Regions from separate parts of the Homo sapiens genome. Here regions 1, 2, 3, 5, 6 and 7 are each linked to region 4. Evidence: promoter capture Hi-C in 16 types of primary human blood cells and fetal thymus (Javierre and others, 2016). All regions are on one chromosome and are shown on one strand. The core of a region is centred on a gene start or on the middle of the fragment in contact, and the rest is flanking DNA. Distances in the headings are between cores, read along the strand shown.

The links. Contacts are between HindIII fragments. The CHiCAGO score rates a contact against its expected background, and 5 or more counts as called.
Region 1: a contact is called between a fragment that was not itself captured here and the fragment with the promoter of MKLN1-AS in region 4, in 6 of 17 cell types (activated CD4 T cells, total B cells, neutrophils and 3 more). The highest score is 8.7, in activated CD4 T cells.
Region 2: a fragment that was not itself captured here is called in contact with the fragment with the promoter of MKLN1-AS in region 4 in 6 of 17 cell types (neutrophils, naive B cells, total CD4 T cells and 3 more); the score reaches 8.1 in neutrophils.
Region 3: a fragment that was not itself captured here is called in contact with the fragment with the promoter of MKLN1-AS in region 4 in 6 of 17 cell types (naive B cells, total B cells, total CD8 T cells and 3 more); the score reaches 7.2 in naive B cells.
Region 5: a fragment that was not itself captured here is called in contact with the fragment with the promoter of MKLN1-AS in region 4 in 5 of 17 cell types (naive B cells, total B cells, naive CD4 T cells and 2 more); the score reaches 9.7 in naive B cells.
Region 6: a fragment that was not itself captured here is called in contact with the fragment with the promoter of MKLN1-AS in region 4 in 2 of 17 cell types (naive B cells and total CD8 T cells); the score reaches 5.6 in naive B cells.
Region 7: a contact is called between a fragment that was not itself captured here and the fragment with the promoter of MKLN1-AS in region 4, in 4 of 17 cell types (naive CD4 T cells, total CD8 T cells, neutrophils and 1 more). The highest score is 8.6, in naive CD4 T cells.

What each region holds. Positions count from the first base shown.
Region 1 is chr7:130,856,280-130,858,979 of GRCh38, reverse strand. No RefSeq gene overlaps it. Among named protein-coding and RNA genes, the nearest start is that of MIR29A, 19 kb to the left of the region's middle. The HindIII fragment of the contact is 680 bases long and covers 1,062-1,741 here.
Region 2 is chr7:130,990,629-130,993,328 of GRCh38, reverse strand. All of the region lies in intron 3 of LINC-PINT (long intergenic non-protein coding RNA, p53 induced transcript), which reads left to right. Among named protein-coding and RNA genes, the nearest start is that of LINC00513, 79 kb to the right of the region's middle. The HindIII fragment of the contact is 7,473 bases long and covers 1-2,700 here.
Region 3 is chr7:130,946,976-130,949,785 of GRCh38, reverse strand. The region is part of intron 5 of LINC-PINT (long intergenic non-protein coding RNA, p53 induced transcript); the gene reads left to right. Among named protein-coding and RNA genes, the nearest start is that of LINC00513, 35 kb to the right of the region's middle. The HindIII fragment of the contact is 2,796 bases long and covers 1-2,677 here.
Region 4 is chr7:131,326,339-131,329,038 of GRCh38, reverse strand. It overlaps MKLN1-AS (MKLN1 antisense RNA), which reads left to right and starts at 1,260. Exons shown (of 6, transcript NR_125364.1): 1 at 1,260-1,424; 2 at 2,104-2,233. It overlaps MKLN1 (muskelin 1), which reads right to left and starts at 1,163. Exons shown (of 18, transcript NM_013255.5): 1 at 1,042-1,163. The coding sequence starts at 1,139. RefSeq lists enhancers at 245-821, 828-1,127, 822-1,398 and a silencer at 1,178-1,337. The HindIII fragment of the contact is 3,998 bases long and covers 1-2,700 here.
Region 5 is chr7:130,930,386-130,932,885 of GRCh38, reverse strand. The region is part of intron 6 of LINC-PINT (long intergenic non-protein coding RNA, p53 induced transcript); the gene reads left to right. Among named protein-coding and RNA genes, the nearest start is that of LINC00513, 18 kb to the right of the region's middle. The HindIII fragment of the contact is 353 bases long and covers 1,074-1,426 here.
Region 6 is chr7:130,972,922-130,975,621 of GRCh38, reverse strand. The region is part of intron 5 of LINC-PINT (long intergenic non-protein coding RNA, p53 induced transcript); the gene reads left to right. Among named protein-coding and RNA genes, the nearest start is that of LINC00513, 61 kb to the right of the region's middle. The HindIII fragment of the contact is 4,557 bases long and covers 1-2,700 here.
Region 7 is chr7:130,905,752-130,908,525 of GRCh38, reverse strand. The region is part of intron 6 of LINC-PINT (long intergenic non-protein coding RNA, p53 induced transcript); the gene reads left to right. Among named protein-coding and RNA genes, the nearest start is that of LINC00513, 6.3 kb to the left of the region's middle. The HindIII fragment of the contact is 1,024 bases long and covers 743-1,766 here.

The DNA.
Region 1 (2,700 bases), core at 152-2,651, 470 kb after region 4:
TTTAAAAATGTGGATATTTACTGCTATAAAATTCCATGTTAGTACTACTTTTTCTGTATCCTATAGATTCTTGTATGTTTTGTTTCCATTTTTATTTTTTTCAAGAAATTTCTAAATTTCCTTCTTAATTTCTTCACTGACCAACCGGTTGTCTGGAAACATGTTGTTTAATTTCCATGTATTTGTACAGTTTTTAACATTCCTCATTTTATTGACTTATAGTTTTACTCTATTGTGGTCAGAAAAGATACTTGATATAATTTCCACTTTTTTGTATTTGTTGAGACTTGTTTCATGGTCCAACATATAGTCTGTCCTGGAGAATGTTCCATGTGCTGATGAAGAATGCGTATTCTGTAGCAGTTGGGTGAAATATTCTGTAAATGTCTGTTAGGTCCATTTGGTGTACAGTTTCACTCTGATGTTTCTTTGTTGATTTTCTGCCTGAATGATCTTTCCATTGTCAAAAGTAGGATGCTGAAATCCCCTCTTACTGCTGCATTGCAGTCTATCTCTCCCTTCAGATCTATTAATATTTGCTTTGTATATTTGGGTACTCTGGTGTTGGGTGTGTATATATTTACTATTGTTATATCCTCTAGCTGAATTGACCTCTTAATCATTATATAATAACCCTATTTATCTCTTTTTACAGTTTTTAATTTAAAGTCTATTTTAGCTCATATAGTTACTCCTGCTCTTTTTTGGTTTCCATTGCATGGGATATCATCTTTCTATCCCTTCACTTTCAGTCTATGTGTATCTTTACAGGTGAATTGAGTTTCTTGTAGACAGCATATTGTTGGGTCTTGTTTTTTAATCCATGCAGCTACTCTTTGTTTTTTTAATTGGAGAATTCAGTCCATTTACATTCAATGTTACTATTGATAGATAAGGCCTTACTGCCATACTGTTACTTGTTTACTAGCTGTAGGTAACTCCTCTCTTCCTTTCTTTGTCTTTCTTTGTGGTTAAGTGATTTTTCTCTGGTAGTATGTTTTGTTACTTTTTATTTTTAGTCTATCTGTTATAGGTTTTAGCTTTGTAGTTACCGTTAAGCTTACAAAACAAATCCTACAGTTATAACAGGTATTTAAAACTGATGCCAACTTAATTTTGATCATAAAAAAGCAAAGAAACAACCCAAACAGGTTAACTCCCTTCTTCCTCCACATTTACAGTTTTTGATGTCACCAATTACCCTTTTTTATTGCCTGTCTCTTAACAAATTATTTTCAAAATTATTTTAATAGTTTTGACTTTCAGTCTTTTGGCCAAAGATATAAGTGGTTTATCACAATTACAATATTACTATAATAATTACGTTAGAGTCCTTTTCTTTCAGTTTGAAGAATTTCCTTTAGCATTTTTTGTGGGACAGTTCTGGTTGCTATAAATATAAAGTCCGTCTGGGATAGTCTTTATCTCTCCATTTCTGAAGAACTTTTTTTGATACAGTATTCTTGGTTGGCCATTTTTTTCCTACAACACTCTGAATATTATCATCTCCCTCCTGGCCTGAAAAGTTTCTGCTGAGAAGTCTGATGCCAGGAGTATTGGATCTCCCTTATATGTTATTTGCCTCTTTTCTCTTGCTGCTTTTAGAATCCTCTCTTTGTCTTTCATTTTTGCAAGTTCGATGTAATATGTCTTGGGATATTCTTATTTGGGTTGAATCTGATTGGTGATCTTTGATCTTCCTGGCTTTGGTATTTGTATCTTTCTCCAGGGTTGGAAAGCTTTCTATTATTTCTCTGAAGAAGCTTTCTACCCCTTTGTCTTTCTCAGTTCCCTCTTTAACTCCAATAATGAATATTTTCTTTTTTGATGTTGTCTCATACATATTGTAAGCTTTTTTCATTATTTTTATTCCTTTTTTTTTCCTCTGTGTATATCCAAATAATCTGTCACTGATTACTTCTGCCATTGATGCTCTATATTGCATTTTTCATTTCATTCATTGTATTTTTCAGCTCCAGGATTTTTTGATTTTTAAAATTTTTTCAATGTCTCTATTAAATTTTTCTGATACATTTCTGAATTGATTTTCTGTTTTCTGGAATTTCATTGAGTCTCCTTAAAGCAGCTATTTTGAATTATTTGTATGAGAGATCACACATCTCTATCACTGTAGGGTTGGTCGCTGGCACCTTGTTTTACCTCATTTGTGAGGTCATATTTCCCTGAATGTTTTTGATGCCTGTAGAAGTACAACAATGTCTACATATTTAGGAATTAGGTATTTATTTTAGTCTTTGCATTCTGGCTTTGTTTGTGCCTGTCCTTCAGAGGGCCTTTCGGATTCTAAGCTGACTGACTGTTGTGTTCCCTGAGCCTGTGACCACTGCAGCCAGATATCTCAGCACTAGAGGACACTCCAAGCCCAGGCTTGCCGTGAGTTTCATGAGGACTCTGAGGTTGACATGGCTTTCCAGCCCAGATGGACCTAGAGAAGACCCCAGGCAGATACTGGACTGAGGGACCTGAGTCCAGAAAACTGTCCTTGTGGCCCAGACAAGTGTGTCTCCCAGCAGATCTCTGCATTTCTCAACTGCAGCAAGAGGAGATGGAGTTGAGACTGGACCACTTCAGGATCAGCTGTGAGAAGGAGCTGGTGGGCCTATCTCATTGTCTCAGATGAACATGCATCACCCAGCTGGTCCCTGTATGAGTGGGGTAGTTCCTAGACTGAAGCAGTAG
Region 2 (2,700 bases), core at 68-2,567, 340 kb after region 4:
ATGAATATTTTTCAATTGGAAGTAGATTCATATTCTGTATCATGGAACACAGGCCACTTCTTACTGCCACTTTAAAACTTGTCAGATGAGGCTGGGTGTGGTGGCTCACGCCTGTAATCCCAGCACTTTGGGAAGCCGAGGTGGGTAGATCACTTGAGGTCAGGAGTTGGAAACCAGCCTGGCCAATATGGCGAAAACCTGTCTCTCCTAAAAATACACATACACAAAAAATTAGCAGAGCATGGTGGTGCATACCTGTAATCCCAGCTACTCGGGAGACGGAGGTGGGAGAATCACTTGAACCTGGGAGGCAGAGGTTGCAGTGAGCCAAGATTGCACCCCTGCACTCCAGCCTGGGCAACAGAACGAGACTCCGCCTCAAAAAAAAAAAAAAAAAAGAAAAAGAAAAGAAAAGAAAAGAAAAGAAAATGGGCTAGGGCCACGCACGGTGGCTCATGCCTGTAATCCCAGCACTATGGGAGGCCGAGGCAGGAGGATTGCCTGAGCCCAGGAGTTTGAGACCAGCCTGGCCAACATGGTAAAACCTCCTCTCTGCTAAAAATACAAAAAAAAGAAAAAAAAATTAGCCGAGCATGGTGATGTGTGCCTGTAGTCCTAGCTACTTGGGAGGCTGAGGCAGGAGAATCATTTGAACCTGGGAGGCGGAGGTTGCAGTGAGCCGAGATCGCGCCACTGCAACTCCAGCCTGGGTGACAGAACGAGACTACATCTCAAAAACAAACAAACAAAAAAAAAGTGTCAGATGAAGTCAATATGCAATCTGTGCTTGGCCAATTTGCTGCACCATCCTGCCTTTTTTCCATTTTATAAATACAGCATTTTATAGAAAAGATCTGCTAAAATCAGTTTTAAGATCTGATTTATGAATTGTTGTCAGACCACAAGATGTCTGCTTATGTTTCTAAAACTATATCTTGAAGCTATTTTTTTTTTAAGTCTCATGAAATAAAGACCTTCCTTCACTCCTCCTAGACTATGGTGCTCTCATGCTAGAGAAGGTCCACTGTGTTTCTCTCTGTAGTAACACAACGAAACGGGGCTGGCAGTTCACACGCACATGACCCTGACACCCACGGTGTGGAGGCTGCAGGCTCCTTCTTTAGGCCTTGCCCCTACGGCAGCCCGGGTTGGCCTTGGTGTCCAAAGAGTCCAGAAACCATTCTGTTGTCCCTCAGGGCAGTAGTCCAGGATAGAAAGTGGGACTAAAGGAACCAGGCTGCTGGGGAGGTGAGTTTGGCAGTGTGCTGATAGGCCCCACTTTGGGGAAGAATGGGGAGACAGCAAGGACAGCCGGGATGTGCCGGTACTGAGTCGGTGCCCTATGCAGCAGCAGAGCCCAGCTCTGTGGCTCGGGTGTTGGTTCCATTGTCGGAGGGAAAGGTGCTGATGTGCCTGATGGTGATCATTCTGAATAGTAATGAGCGTTGTTAGCAATGGCTCTGTAGTTCCCAGATGTATTCGCCTACATGTCACGCCCCTGAGAAGCCCTAGTCAAATGGCCCTTGATGGAAGTGACCCCAGAGCCCAAACATGTCATGTCTTGAAGTAGGTTGTTGCCTTGGGTGTTAGAGTGTGAGAAAATGAACAAATGGTAAAATAAAACTTCCCAGCCATCTCGGTGGCTCATGCCTGTAATCCCAGCACTTTGGGAGGCCAAGGCGGGTGGATCACCTGAGGTTGGGAGTTCAAGACCAGCCTGAGCAACATGGAGAAACCCCATCTCTACTAAAAACACAAAATTAGCCGGGCGTGGTGGAGAATCACTTGAACCCAGGAGTTGGAGGTTGCAGTGAGCCGAGATTACACCACTACACTCCAGTCTGGGCAACAAGAGTGAAACTCCGTCTAAAATCAATCAATCAATCAATCTTCCCTTATTGGTACTAATTAGTAATTAAGGTAAAGTCTTGTCTGAATTAGGGAAAGTTTGGAGACTCACTTCACTTTCTGATATTCAGCGTTCTAACATAAAGGCTTATAAAGTGTTGCTGGGTAGTTTTGCCAGTAGAGGCCCCTGTGCTTGTTTTAATGATACAGAGTTATTCCAAACTGCAGTGAAATGCTGTGGACACATTTTCTGCAGGCGTCTCAGTAACTTTGAAAGATGGTTTTTAGTATAAAAACTTAGACTTTATTTACACTGCTAAATACTGACATATATATGAGTAAAAGCAAAATATTGGGACTGTTTCTAAACAGCTAAATAACAATAAATGGATTGTTAAACATACATAAAATAACCTTAATGAAGGCCACAGTAATTCATGTCTGTGTAGAATAAGTTCATTGAAATCAACATTCCTCTCAGTATCAGAGTTCCTTCTACAGTATGCATAGCAGATGATAATTTAGGCATCATCATCTCTCTCTTTACCCACCTCCCCTCTTCTTCCTTCCTCCCATCATCCAGTGCATGCTGTATCCAGGTCACTATGGTCAGCACTGAGGATACACAGGGAAATAGCATGTGGTCCTGCCCTCAGAGACCTGACAGTCTAGATATTTACAGCAGAGGGAGATGGTGCAGGGGAGAAGTACGCTGAGCGGGCGAGAAGCAGGCTAGCCACTCTGCTTGGAGGAGAGAGAGCACAAGATTCACAGAGGAGGTTGGGTTTTCAAGTTTGCAGGGATGGCCCAGAAATGAAAAGCGTTGTAGGCACAGACCATGTGATGCTTGCA
Region 3 (2,810 bases), core at 30-2,529, 380 kb after region 4:
ATGCCTCCTTTACATTGTAATTGCCAGTTTGCTACAGGAAGGATGATGAAATATTGTTCATCATCTAGCACCTAGCCCAGTGCCTGGCAGAGTTATACAAGATGTACTCAAGTATTTTTTGAACAAAATTAATGAATAAAATGACTTGTAGAAAGAGCCTTCCAATTACACTTGCTTTCTTACCTTTAAATAGCCACCTCTTTAAAAAAAATAAAACACGGCCAAGCATGGTGGCTCATGCCTGTAATCCCAGCAGTTTGGAAGGCCAAGGTGGGCGGATCACCTGAAGTCAGGAGTTCGAGACCAGCCTGGCTAACATGGTGAAACCCTGTCTCTACTAAAAATACAAAAATTAGCTGGGCATGGTGGCGTGTGCCTGTAATCCCAGCTACTCAGGAGGCTGAGGCAGGAGAATTGCTTGAACCGAGGGGACAGAGGTTGCAGTGAGCCGAGATTGCACCATTGCACTCCAGCCTGGTCAATAAGAGCGAAACTCCATCTCAAAATTAATAAATATATTAAATAAAACACAACAAACAAAATAGAACTCTTCTCCAGGGGCTTGTCTTTAAATCTGGCATTGCTCAGTGACCTTGGGGAAGCCTCTTTAGACATCTGAGTCCTGGAACAGTTCTATCTGAGAGCTTCTGTCCAGCTCTAGAATTCTTTAAATCTGTGGTAATAGCACAAAATGGGTATCGAGTACATTTTAAGGACACTCAGAGTTTCCCTTATGCTTATGTTTTTTCCTGTTGATGAGAAAATGTCATCATGTTGCTTGGATTTGTAGGTTCTTTCCTAGTTGTGGGGAATTTTTCCAAGCTGGCTATTATGAGAGGGTCTCAAAAAAAAACCACAAAGAAGTTTGGTATATTATGTTCAAATTACACACAGTATCCCTTCTTATTTTCACTTTTGATCTGGATTTTCACTTCTGAGCTGACTTCTATAATTTATATTTAAAGAATTTAGTCTCAGAAATAAGGTCATTTGATGCTTGCATCATTGACACTCCTAAACCTTTCTTGCATTCCAAATCGGAAACTTATTCAGGACTTCTAATTCTGATGGTTTCTTTCTTTCTTTCATATATTTATAGATGAAATATATATATATATATATACACAGATAAGACTATATCTATATGTAAATACAGATACTTAAAATATATATGTATATATTTTAATCGTGGTAAAATATGTAACAGAAAAATTACCATCTTAACCATGTTTAAGTACACAGGTCATTGGCATTAAATACATTCATGTTGTTGTGCACCCATCACCATCATCCATCTCTGGAATCTTTTCATTTTGCAAAACAGAAACTCTGTCCTCATTAAACAACAACTCCCCATTCCCTCCTCCCCCCAGCTCCCCTGAAAACCATCATTGTACTTTCTGTTTCTTTGAATTTGACTATTCTAGGTACCTCAAATAAGTGAAACCCTACAGTATTTGTCCTTTTGTGACTGGCTTATTTCACTTAGCACAATGTCCTCAAGGTTCGTCTAATGTTGTAGGATTACAACAACATTGTAGCATTGACATGATTTCTTTGCTTTTTAAGGCTGAATAATATTCCGCCATGTAGATATGCCACATTTTATATATCCATGTGATGGACACGGGTTGATGGACACAGGTTGCTCTCATGTTTTGGCTGTTGTGAATAATGCTGTTAGGGACGTGGGTGTACAAATACCTGTTTTAGTTCCTGCTTTCAGTTCCTTTGGATCAAATAAGTTATTGATCCTTCTCTATTGACGCTTCTGTTTTCATGGACTCTTGCCTTACTCTTTTGATCATTTACTGTTCCTCCCCCCATCGACCTTTGGGCCATTTTTCTGGTAATGTCCCTACTATCAAGGTTCTCATACTTCAGTTGGACCTCACAGAACTGCTGCCTGGAGAAAACAGTTTGACAGCTAAAAAAAAAAATATGATTCATTATCACCTCCTACACACACACCAATTCCTACTGTTTTCTGAAGGTATACCAGTGGTTCCTAAATTAAAAAAAATCTCTTGGTCATAGGGCAAATTTTTGTAGCTATCGATACTCTGTATTTTGAAATTTAACTGTTGATAATAGTAGCTTCTTGATGTATTAGTCCTCTAATTGTGAAACTGTTATCTGTTTCTTATTATGAAAACAATATATGACAATCACAGAAAATTTGTAAGGTGTAGAAAAGTATTACACACAATGGCACTACCTAAAAGCAACAACTATTAACATTCTGATGCATAGGCTTCCAGTCTCTTTCATGTAAATTTTTACATAGTAAAGATCACATTGTTTTGCACCTTCTTCTTTGCATTTAATAATAAATATAAGAATTTCTGGCTGGGTGTGGTAGTTCATACCTGAGTAGCTGGGAGATTGAGATGGGAGGATAGTCTGAGCCCAGGAGTTCGAGGTTACAGTGAGCTATGATTGTACCATTGCACTCCCCCTGAAGACCCCATCTCAAAAAAAAAAAAAATTTCTTGTTCAAAAGTATTTGCAAATATTTTCATGATTTTATAAAGCTGAGAAATATTTAGAGGGTGGTAATTAGCATAAATAGAATTTTTCCAGTTATAAAAACAATATATTACAGAAAATGCCAACCATCTCAAGATTATAAAGAAGTAATAAAAAATCTAATGTCTCCGTCTGCCCTTTTTAAGCTTTTTTAATGTATCCTAATCCAGTCTGGAGACCAGCTTGTCCCTCCCTTCTTCTTCACTTTCTTTCTTACCTGGCAACATTAGTATCATGTTTATGTATGATTTTATATTCAGCATTTGCACCCAATATTATAT
Region 4 (2,700 bases), core at 11-2,510:
TTCGGTCCTGTGAGATGGTTAGAGGGACAACTAGCACTTTTCTTCAGGATCTGCACAGATCTTAACCCTTTACTAAGCCAGTTCCTCCACTAGCATGTAAAATTGGAGTTAGATCTGCTCCTCCTTTCAAAGATAAGCCAAAGATAAATAAGATACTATGTAAGAGTATTTTCAGCATTTCAGAAGGAATTTGCTAGAGAAAAAAACACCACCAACAAAAACCTAACAATGCAACTGAATTTTTTTAACACCTAAATCAGGGATCAAGACAAAGCCGGTGTTGAAAATCAAATTCATTAAAGCCAGATGTTTCTATGTTTGAGTTTCCGGACTGGGAAACGTGTCTGTGTCCATACAAACCCATCTTCTAATGAGCCGTAATACTGAAATTCTTCGGTAACGTCCCTCCTTCCCACTCCCTATCTTTTTCAGAACTTCCAGGCATTAAAGACAACGTCTGCCAATCCTACAAGTTCTCCCCGCCTGCTAGGATTCAGATGGATTCCACAACTTTTCAGCCTTCCGTGACTTTTAACACTACTCTAGAGCTAATCACTTTTAATGACCCCACTCTGGAATAGACACTCCTCGGCTTTACACTTTGTCCCGGCAGCAATCGACTGAACTGTCCCCCGACGCCGACCACCTCGGACGACCTCAGACATTCGGGGTAGTTTGCCCGCGGGCAGGGCCCCGCCAACTCCGATTCCTGCCCCAGAGCCGTCCGCCCCCCAAGCCCTCCTCAACCTCAACCCCCAAATCCCAAGCGCAGAACCGCTGGGCTTCCGGTTCTCCTGTGCGCGCCCCGGATCCGCCACACACCTCGCCCCTTCTCCCTGGGCTCGCTCTCCGGACCCTAACCCCTTCCCGAGCGAGGCCGAGCAACGCTCTCAGCAGCTGAACTAAGACTCCGGAGGCCGCACGTCCCCCTCAGCAGGCCCCGCCTGGGCCTCTCGGCTCGGCTGCCCTCCATTGCACCCCTGGCCCAACCGTGCTGACGCGGAAGGGTGGGGCAGCACGAGCTCAAGGCCCGGCACTTACTCGGGAAGGTAGGTGGAGGAAAAGGAGCTCCACTTGTGTAGCGCGTAGGGGAGAAGCCGGCACTCGGGCGCCGCAGCGACAGCTCCGCCAGCCGCCATCTTGTCAGCACCGTAGCGGCCGCCACCGACCGCTGGCAGCGAACGGGAGGAGGGGAGGGGGCGTGGCCTGCTCTTAAAGGGGCCGCCGCCCTCCCCGGCCGCCCGCGCTCCCCGCCCCGCATCGTTACCCGAGCCCAGCGCCGGGCCAATGTCCTATCTCAGGGTTTCCCACGTCGCTCGCTCCTTGACGGCTGACCGACACTGGGTCTGAGGTGTAAGCGCTTTCCAGGCCCTTCCCTGGGGCTTGGAGGGGAATGGCGCAAAGGACTTTTCTTACAAGCAGAGGTAAGGAAAAGCCGAGATGATTACGAACAGAAACACGTTGTAGTTATGGAGCAGGAAGGGAAAATAAGAAGACCAAGTTGGAAAAGGGACGCCTGTGCGCTTTTGGAAGCCACCGCCCTCGCCAGTTTATAAGTCCTTTACGGAAACAACACTGAAGGGAGCTGGAGGGCAGTAGCTAATGTGCTGTCCTCCTGGAGTGGTCCTGGTTTTAAATGTCTTGTCCCCGCCTTCCAGAGTCAGATGGAGACAGGAAAAGGAAATGGTCCCGTGTCCTCCTACCCTGTTTGGTTTGCAGTCTGTGATGCCCTTCATTGTAAACATTTCTTGTGAGCCGCATCCTACTAATCTTGTGGCATTGGTTTGCTCGGGAATGACGTTCACCCACAGACCTGAAAAGTCCTTACAGAGTTGGGAAGCTGCGTGTCATCATTTTTTCAGTTGGCAAATCTGCCCACTTTGAACTGACATAATTGTAGCCTAAAAGTTCAGAGAGAGAGTAGTTCAGGAAAAAGACTATTCCTTCTTCTTAGAGGGAACAGCAGCCCTGAAAACTATGTGGACATCATACCAGCTTCTTACAACAAAAGGTGCACTTGGTCTAAATTATCTGGCAGCTCTAGATAACGTTCTCATCAAGTACCTGTTTGTTGTAGTTATGCATATTTATTCCTTGGCTTAGCCACTGCAGTTACCAAAGAGTATGTCGCTTATTGTCTAAGAGGTTGGACTCCTGAAAGCCTGGACAGTGTCATCATCTTCACCTGAAGAGTGGAAAAATTCAAGCAAAGAGTTTCTCAGGAAATGACCAAGTGAGTCAAAACACCTCAATAATTGTATTCTCTTCCCGTTGTAATCATTAACCTGCCGAAATTCCCTCCAGTCCTTTCCTGACTTCCTGTTTCTATAGATGGAAATTTTAATAGTGGGCTCTACTAGGATATCAAATCAAAAAAGCCAGATAGAAAGGCCAGGCCCGGCACGGTGGCTCACACCTGTAATCCCAGCACGTTGGGAGGCTGAGGTGGGTGGATCACCTGAGGTCAGGAGTTCGAAACCAGCGTGGCCAACATGGTGAAACCCCGTCTCTACTAAAAATACAAAAGTTAGCTGCGTGTGGTGACATACACCTATAATCTCAGCTACTTGGGAGGCCGAGGCACAAGAATCACTTGAACCCAGGAGGCAGAGGTTGCAGTGAGCCAAGATCACACCACTGCACTCCAGCCTGGGCAACAGAGTGAAATTCTGTCTCAGAAAAACAAATAAAATACAATAA
Region 5 (2,500 bases), core at 1-2,500, 400 kb after region 4:
CATTGACTGAAATGTTATGCTGCACATGACTGTATATTGAGCGAATAACAGACTCATTGTGTTCTCTGTGATCGCTTCCGAATGGCGAGAGGGCCAGGGCCAAAGGGCACAGACCTGTGAGTGTGTTATGGACTCATGTGGGTTTAGCCTTCACGATATATATGAATATATCATAATGTGTGTATCTAGTGTGTGAATATATATCATAACTTATCCACTTTATGGATATCATAATTTATCCATTTTAGTGATTCCAGGACATTTTGTCTATCTATGCTTTTTTTTTTTTTTTTTTTTTTTTGAAATGGAGTCTCACTCTGTCACCCAGGCTGGAGTGCAAGTGGCACAATCTTGGGTCACTGCAGCCTCTGCCTCCCCAGTTCAAGCGATTCTCCTGCCTCAGCCTCCTGAGTAGCTAGGACTACAGGCACATGCTACCACACCCGGCTAATCTTCGTATTTTTAGTAGAGATGGGGTTTCACCATGTTGCTGGTCTCAAACTCCTGACTTCAAGTGACCTGCCCGCCTCAACCTCCCAAAGTGCTGAGATTACAGGCATGAGCCACCGTGCCTGCCCTCTAGCTATGCTTTAAGGCAGGCCTATCAGCCCAGACTGGAGTCATGTAATACATGGCTCTGTCAGTAGCTCTCCTTCCCACAAATAAGTTTTGATGATCTTACACTCATCCCTGCCATTAGCATTCAGGACCAATCTTCTATAGCCTATACGCCACACTGGTCTAGGACAGCACCTAAATAATACTCATGCTATAAAAAATTCATCAAGTTATATATTTTTAAAAACATCCCTAAAATTATCTTTTTCCTTTACTGAAAAGAATTTCAGGATCCCCTCTCTCTCACTGCCTCTCTTCACACACACCTACCTTAGTTGGTCACCTATTTTGTAAACATATCTTCTTTAAAAAAAGAAAGAAATGGCAGTACATGAAAAACTGCTTCGTAAACAGAAACTATATTATTTATATTTGTAGCATTTTTTTCCCCTTGAGGTTAATTTCCTTTGCTTCCCATAACTGGAAGCCAATGATTCAGTGCCATTATATAAGCTTATTTTCCCTCTTGGAAATAGTAAATTATAAGAGGTTTGACCCAAAAATATACATCAAAATTAGGCAGTATTCGGTGTTTAGCCTCCATCTGCCTTGTCTTCTTGTCTTTAGTTGTGCAAGTAGATGCTGATGATTTCTGGCAGAGCTAAAGTAAGTAAATCATGTGAATTTATTTTTTTTCCTCATAAAACAGATGGCATGGTCTAGCTCTGGGCTTGTATGTTTCATGAAGTACATGGGTCTGAGTGCGTATTTATTTTGTGAGCCAAGGTTTATGCCTTCTTCTATAATTTTCTTTCACCGAAAATTACCTGGAGAGCTAGAAACTCCATTTGTGTCAGTGTAAGAAGCTTTAGAATCTATATCCAGACCAAGGCCATGGAACAATGTAGATTCACTCAGTAAAAACTCACTAGCGGCCTTCTTTGTACTAGTCTGTCACCTTTGCTTGGCTTTGGGAAGCTTCAAACTAGGGCAGTTTATGTTTGGGAGTGACCAGTCAAATAGCAAGACAGACATAGGCAAGGATGTAATTTTTAAAAATTTAAGTGGGGAATGGTGAAGCATGAATCAAAACAGAAGGTAGTCTTACCTTCTTGGAACTGTAAAATAAATACATTTGAAAAAGGCACCCTCTCAACCTTCTGCGAGTCAGAATTTTTGCTGCCACCCCTCATTTTGAATCTCTATTCTGCATTTTTTATTCTTTTTTTTAGGAAGGAGGAAGAAAAATTTCTCCTGAAGAATTCATTGGAAATTAAAATTAACTTGCGTATTTTGTATTCTTTGGAATGTGATGAAGACTGATTTGAAAGGGCAGTGCTGGATTTGGTCAGGCATAGGAAAGGAAGACATGCAGTCGTCCTGCCTAGCTCATCCCCGCCACGATGGAGAAGTGGGGTTGCTTTCGTTGTACTTTTTTTCATTTGTTTCTTGCCAAGCCCAGTGGCTTCTGTTATAACATGTGGCAGCTTCTCCCTTGGAGACTGATTCAGTCCAAGTTACCATAATATTTAGGACCAGCTACAGAGACGTTTCTTCCCCTAAACCCATGCCAAATCTAAATCAAACTATCTTCTTCTCCTTAGCCGTTCAAATAGCTCCAGCTCTTATATAAAAATACGAGAAATACACAGGCCTCTTTTCGTTTTATTCCTGTTCAAACAGATAAACAAACAAGGCACATCATGCCTAGGTTGCTTTGAGCTTGATCACTTCCTCCTAAAGCAGTCTTACGCTGTGTTGATTTTAAGAATTGCAACTTAGGTGTTCTAGAACATATTCTGAGAGCATAGTCATAGTCTGTGATCTCAGAATATGTTTGCTTCCTTCTAGAACATCTGAGTTCTAGAAATTGCGTACAATAAACTGCTGTCAGTGCTGCTGGAGGAAGGAAGAGTAACTCTGACATCACTGGCCTTCAACA
Region 6 (2,700 bases), core at 138-2,637, 350 kb after region 4:
GTCCTTCTCACTTTGCAAAACCCAATCATGCCTTCCCAACAGTTCCTCAAAGTCTTGACTTTTTTCCAGCATGACCTCAAAAATCCAAAGTCTCATCTGAGACAAGGCAAGTCCCTTCTGCTCATGAGCCTGGAAAATAACAAACAAGTTAGTTATTTTCAAGATACAATGGAGGTACAGGCATTGAGTAAATACTTCCATTCCAAAAGGGAGAAATTGGCCAAAAGAAAGGGGCTACAGGCCCCATGCAAGTCTGAAACCCAGCAGGGCAGTCATTAAATCTTAAAGCTCCAGAATAATCTCCTTTGACTCTAAGTCTCACATTCAGGACACAGTGATGCAAGGGGTAGGCTCACAAGGCCTTGGGCAGCTCTGCTCCTGTGGCTTTGCAGGATTCAGCCCCTGTGGCTGCTCTCAAGGGCTGGTGTTGAATGTGTATGGCTTTTCCAGGTGCAGGGTGCAAGCTGCCAGTGGATCTACCATTCTGGGGTCTGGAGGACAGTGGCCCTCTTCTCACTGCTCCACTAGGCAGTGCTCCAGTGGGGACACTGTGTAGGGGCTCCAATCTTACATTTCCCCTCTACACTGCCCTAATGGAGGCTCTCCATAAGGGCTCTATCCCTGCAGCAGACTTCTGCCTGGACATCCGGGCTTTTCTATATATCCTCTGAAATCTAGGCGGAGGCTCCTGAGCCTCATTCACTCTTACACTCTGTGTACCCACAGGCTTAACACTACATGGAAGCTACCAAGGCTTATGGCTTACATCCTCCAGAGCAGTGGCCTGAGCTATACCTGGGCCCCTTTGAGCCATGGCTAGAGCTGGAGCTGCTGGGATGCAGGGAGCAGTTCTCATGGCTGTGCAGGGCAGCTGGGCCTGATCCACAAAACCTTTCAGTCTTACTAGGCCTTTGGGCCTGTGATGAGAAGGGCTGCCATGAAGTTCTCTGAAATACTATCGAGGCCTTTTCCCCATTGTCTTGGCTATCAGCACTTGTCTTTCTTTTAGCTTGAATTGCTCTCCTGAAAATGGGCTTTTCTTTTCTGCCACATGGCCAGGATGCAAATTTTCTAAACTTTGGAAACTCTGCTTTTCTTTTATAAAAAAGTTCAAATTACAGGTCATTTCTTTGCTTACACATGTGAGCAGCCAGGCCATGTCTTGAATACTTCACTGCTTAGAAATTTCTTCCATCAGATACCCTAAATCATCACTTTGAAGTTCAAAGTTCCACAGATCCATAGAGCAAGGACACATTGCAGCCAGGCTGTTTGCTAAAGCATAGCTTTACTCCAATTCTCGGTAACTTTCCCGTATTCACCTGAGACCTCCTCAGCTTGGACTTCATTGTCCATATCACTATCAGCATTTTGGTCACAACAATTCAAGTCTCTAGGAAGTTCCAAACTTTTCCCTCATCTTCCTGTTTTCTTCTGAGCCCTCCAAACTGTTCCAACCTCTGCCTGTTATCCAGTTTCAAAGCTGCTTCCACATTTTCAGGTATCATAGCAATGCCCCTTTTCTTGGTACTAATTTTCTGTGTTAGTCCATTCTTGAATTTCTATAAAGAAATACCTGAGACTCGGTAATTTATAAAGAAAAGAGGTTTAATTGGCTCACAGTTCTGCAGGCTGTACAGGAAGCATAGTGGCTTCTGCTTCTGGGAAGGCCTTAGGAAACTTACAATCATGGCAGAAGTCAGAATGAAAACAGGCACATCTTACATGGCCAAGATATGGAGTGAGAGTTGGGGAGGGAGGTACCACACACTTTTAAATGAGCAGATTTCACCAGAACTCACTCATTCACTATCATGAAAACAGCACCAAGAGGGAAATGTGCCCCCATGATTGAGTCACCTCCCACCAGGCACCACCTCTAACATTTAGGATACAGTTTGACATGAGATTTGGGGATACAGATCCAAACCATAACAAAATCCAATTTGATTATGTTGCATGTGGATATTCAGTTTTCTGAGCATCATTTGTGGAAGAGATTATCCTTCCCTGATGTATGTGTATTCTTGGTACCCTTGCCAAAGATCAGTTAACTGTTTATCTGTGGGTTTATTTCTGGGCTCTATATTCTGTTCCACTGGTCTATAAATCTGTTTTAATGCCATTGCTGTACTGTTAAAGTTACTGTAAATTCGTAATAAATTTAGAAATCAGGAAGTATGATGCCTCCAAATTTGTTCTTTCTAAAGTTTGTGTTTGACTATTTGGAGTCCTTTGTTGTTCCATATGAATGTTAGGATTTTTAAAAAAATTTTTGTAGAAAATACCATTAGGATTTTAGTAGGGATTGCATTGTGTCTGCAGATTGCTTTGGATAGTATGGATATTTTACCAGTAGTAGGTCTTTCAATCCATGAACATGGGCTTTCTTCCCCTTTATTTGTGTTTTCTTCAATTTCTTTTATTAATCTTATGTAGTTCTCAGTGTAGAAATATTTTATCTCTTTGGTTAAGTTTATTCCTAAGCATTTTATTCTTTTTGATGCTATTGCACATGGGACCCAGCAATCTCACTTCCGAGTATATATCCAAACACATGCACACGTATGTTTATTGTGGCACTACTCACAATAGCAAAGACTTGGAACCAAGCCATATGTCCAACAATGATAGACTGGATTAAGAAAATGTGGCACATATACAGCATGGAATACTATGCAGCCATAAAAAATGATGAGT
Region 7 (2,774 bases), core at 5-2,504, 420 kb after region 4:
AGTTGTGTATTTTTAGTACAGACGGGGTTTCACCCTATTGGTCAGGCTGGTCTCGAACTCCTGACCTCAGGTGATCCACCCACCTCGGCCTCCCAAGGTGCTGGGATTACAGGTGTGAGCCACCACGCCCAGCCTGTATAGACACTTTCCTCTTTTTTTTTTTTTTTTTTTGAGACGGAGCCTTGCTCTGTCACCCAGGCTGGAGTGCAGTGGCGCAGTCTCGGCTCACTGCAAACTCCACCTCCCGGGTTCATGCCATTCTCCTGCCTCAGCCTCCCAAGTAGCTAAGACTACAGGTGCCCGCCACCACGCCCGGCTAATTTTTTGTATTTTTAGTAGAGACGGGGTTTTACCATGTTAGCCAGGATGGTCTCGATCTCCTGACCTCGTGATCTGCCCGTCTCGGCCTCCCAAAGTGCTGGGATTACAGGCTTGAGCCACCATGCCCGGCCTGTATAGACACTTTCTATCCCACTTTTAAAACAGGCATGTTCTCCCTATGCTTTAAAATGCCTTTAAAATATTTCTAATGGTGCTAATTCTCTAATTTGGGAGTGTCTAATTTGCTTCCAGTTTTTAAAAACTATTTTTTATTATAGTAATTAACCTTTTAAATACATGAATCTTGGGCATATTTTTAATGATTTCCTTAGGAGAGATTCCTTACAGTGAATTTCTTGAGTAAAAGGAGGTTAACTGTAAGATTCTTGATATACCTTGCTAAATTGTTTTCTAGAAAGCTTGAACCAAGTTCTGCACATTTTAGCAAAGTATGAAATGTCCTTCTCTCCATATCTTCATCAGCATTGAGTGTTCTCTCTTTTTTATCTTTAGACAAAAAGGTTACATTCTTTTTGGTTCATCTACTCAGAAGCTATTTAATGAATGTTCACTCCATGTCAGGCATGTGGCATGTTTTCATCTCTACCAGTAACGCTGAACTTTCTTCTTGTGTGCATCAGCCTGTTGTTTTCTTTTGTAAATGTTCTGTTCGTGTCCATTATCAACTTTTCTACTAGGGTGTGACTGTTTCTATGATATATTTATAACGATGTGTGTGTGTGTGTGTGTGTGTATACGATATTTGGGGTAAATACTTTTCCCAGCTTCTTTGACTTTTAATTTTGCTTATACTTTATTGGAAATACAGAACCTTTATTTTATTATTATTATTATACTTTAAGTTCTGGGATACATGGGCAGAACGTGCAGGTTTGTTACATAGGTATAAACGTGCCATGGTGGTTTGCTGCACCCATCAAACCACCATCTACATTAGGTATTTCTCCTAATGCTATCCCTCCCATAGTCCGCCACCCACCAACAGGCCCTGGTGTGTGATGTTCTGCTCCCTGTGTCCATGTGTTCTCATGAGAACCTTTATATTTTATGTAGTGGAGTAAGTTATTTTATCTTTTTTTTTTTCCTGTGTAACTTCTGTTACCTCAGGCTTAGGAATTCCTTCCTACCCAGAAGTTAGAAAATATTCATCTATTTTTTTTTAAAGTTTCATTTTTAACATTAAACTCACCAAATTAGAAGTAAGATGTGGCCAGGCACAGTGGCTCACACCTGTAATCTCAGTGCTTTGCGGGGGCTAAGGTGGAAAAATCACTTGAGGCTAGGAGTTCAAGACAAGCCTGGGTAACACAGTGAGACCCCACCTCTACCAAAAAATTTAAAAATTAGGCAGGCATGGTAGCATGTGTCTGTAGTCCTAGCTGCTTGGGAGGCTGAGGTGGGAGGATCACTTCAGCCCAGAAGCTTGAGGCTGTAGTTAGCTATTATCATGCTATTGCATTCCAGCCTAGGCAACAGAGCAAGAACCCTGTGTCTTTAAAAAAAAAAAAAAAAAAAGTGTGAAACAAAGATCCAAATGGACTTTGTTTCACAAAGTAAATCCCCCATCATGTTTTGAGTCATGTATCTTTCCCTATTTAATTTGTGGTGCTTCCTTTATTTTATATTTCAAGACTTTTTGCTATTATATCCAGCGGTAGGAGCCCATGAACTTGTTGGATATTGGTATGCACAGAAGATGCGGTAATACTTTTTTCCAATATTTTATTATGAAAAATACACTGGCTAGATTCTATAATTAATATTCTGTCACTTTACCATCTATTCACGTAATAATTCTTAAACTTCTCAAATCATTATTTGAATTTCAAAGTGGACTATCAAAGACATTTTCTCTAACCCTATTTTTCTCTAATTTGCAGTTTTGATTTCCAGGAAGCCTTTAGCAATTTATATTGTTAGTACAGTAAGAGAGTAAACAACACACTAAAATACCAAGAGAAACTACTTTCCAAAACATGTTTTAGTCGTTTAACTTTATGAATATGGCTAGCAAGGGGGCTTCCTGGGGGACAGTGCTGGGGAAAGAGCAGGCCCTAGGAATGGGCTTTGAAAGAAGACTTTTGCCACCGTCAGGTCACATTTGCAAGAGGCCATCGTCGTGGTCTGCCAGGGAACCCTTAGCAGAAAGGCTGCTTTGCCCAGGATCTGGCTTGCCGCCCCAGACCAGCCCTACCGCTGTCTGGCATTGAATGTCCCTGGTCCGCAGTGAGTGGCCAGTTGCATAGACCTTAGATCAAGGAGCTTAGTCACCTCTTTCCAGCCTAAATCATGAGCACCCTAAATTCCCATGGGTTGTTGAGACCTAATAGCATCCTGGCTTAGAGATGGGATTGCAGCTGGGTCTGCACAGGAAACTGGCCTACTGTGTCTGCCTCTTGGTGCAGCATACAACCAGCCACATGGAAAAACCC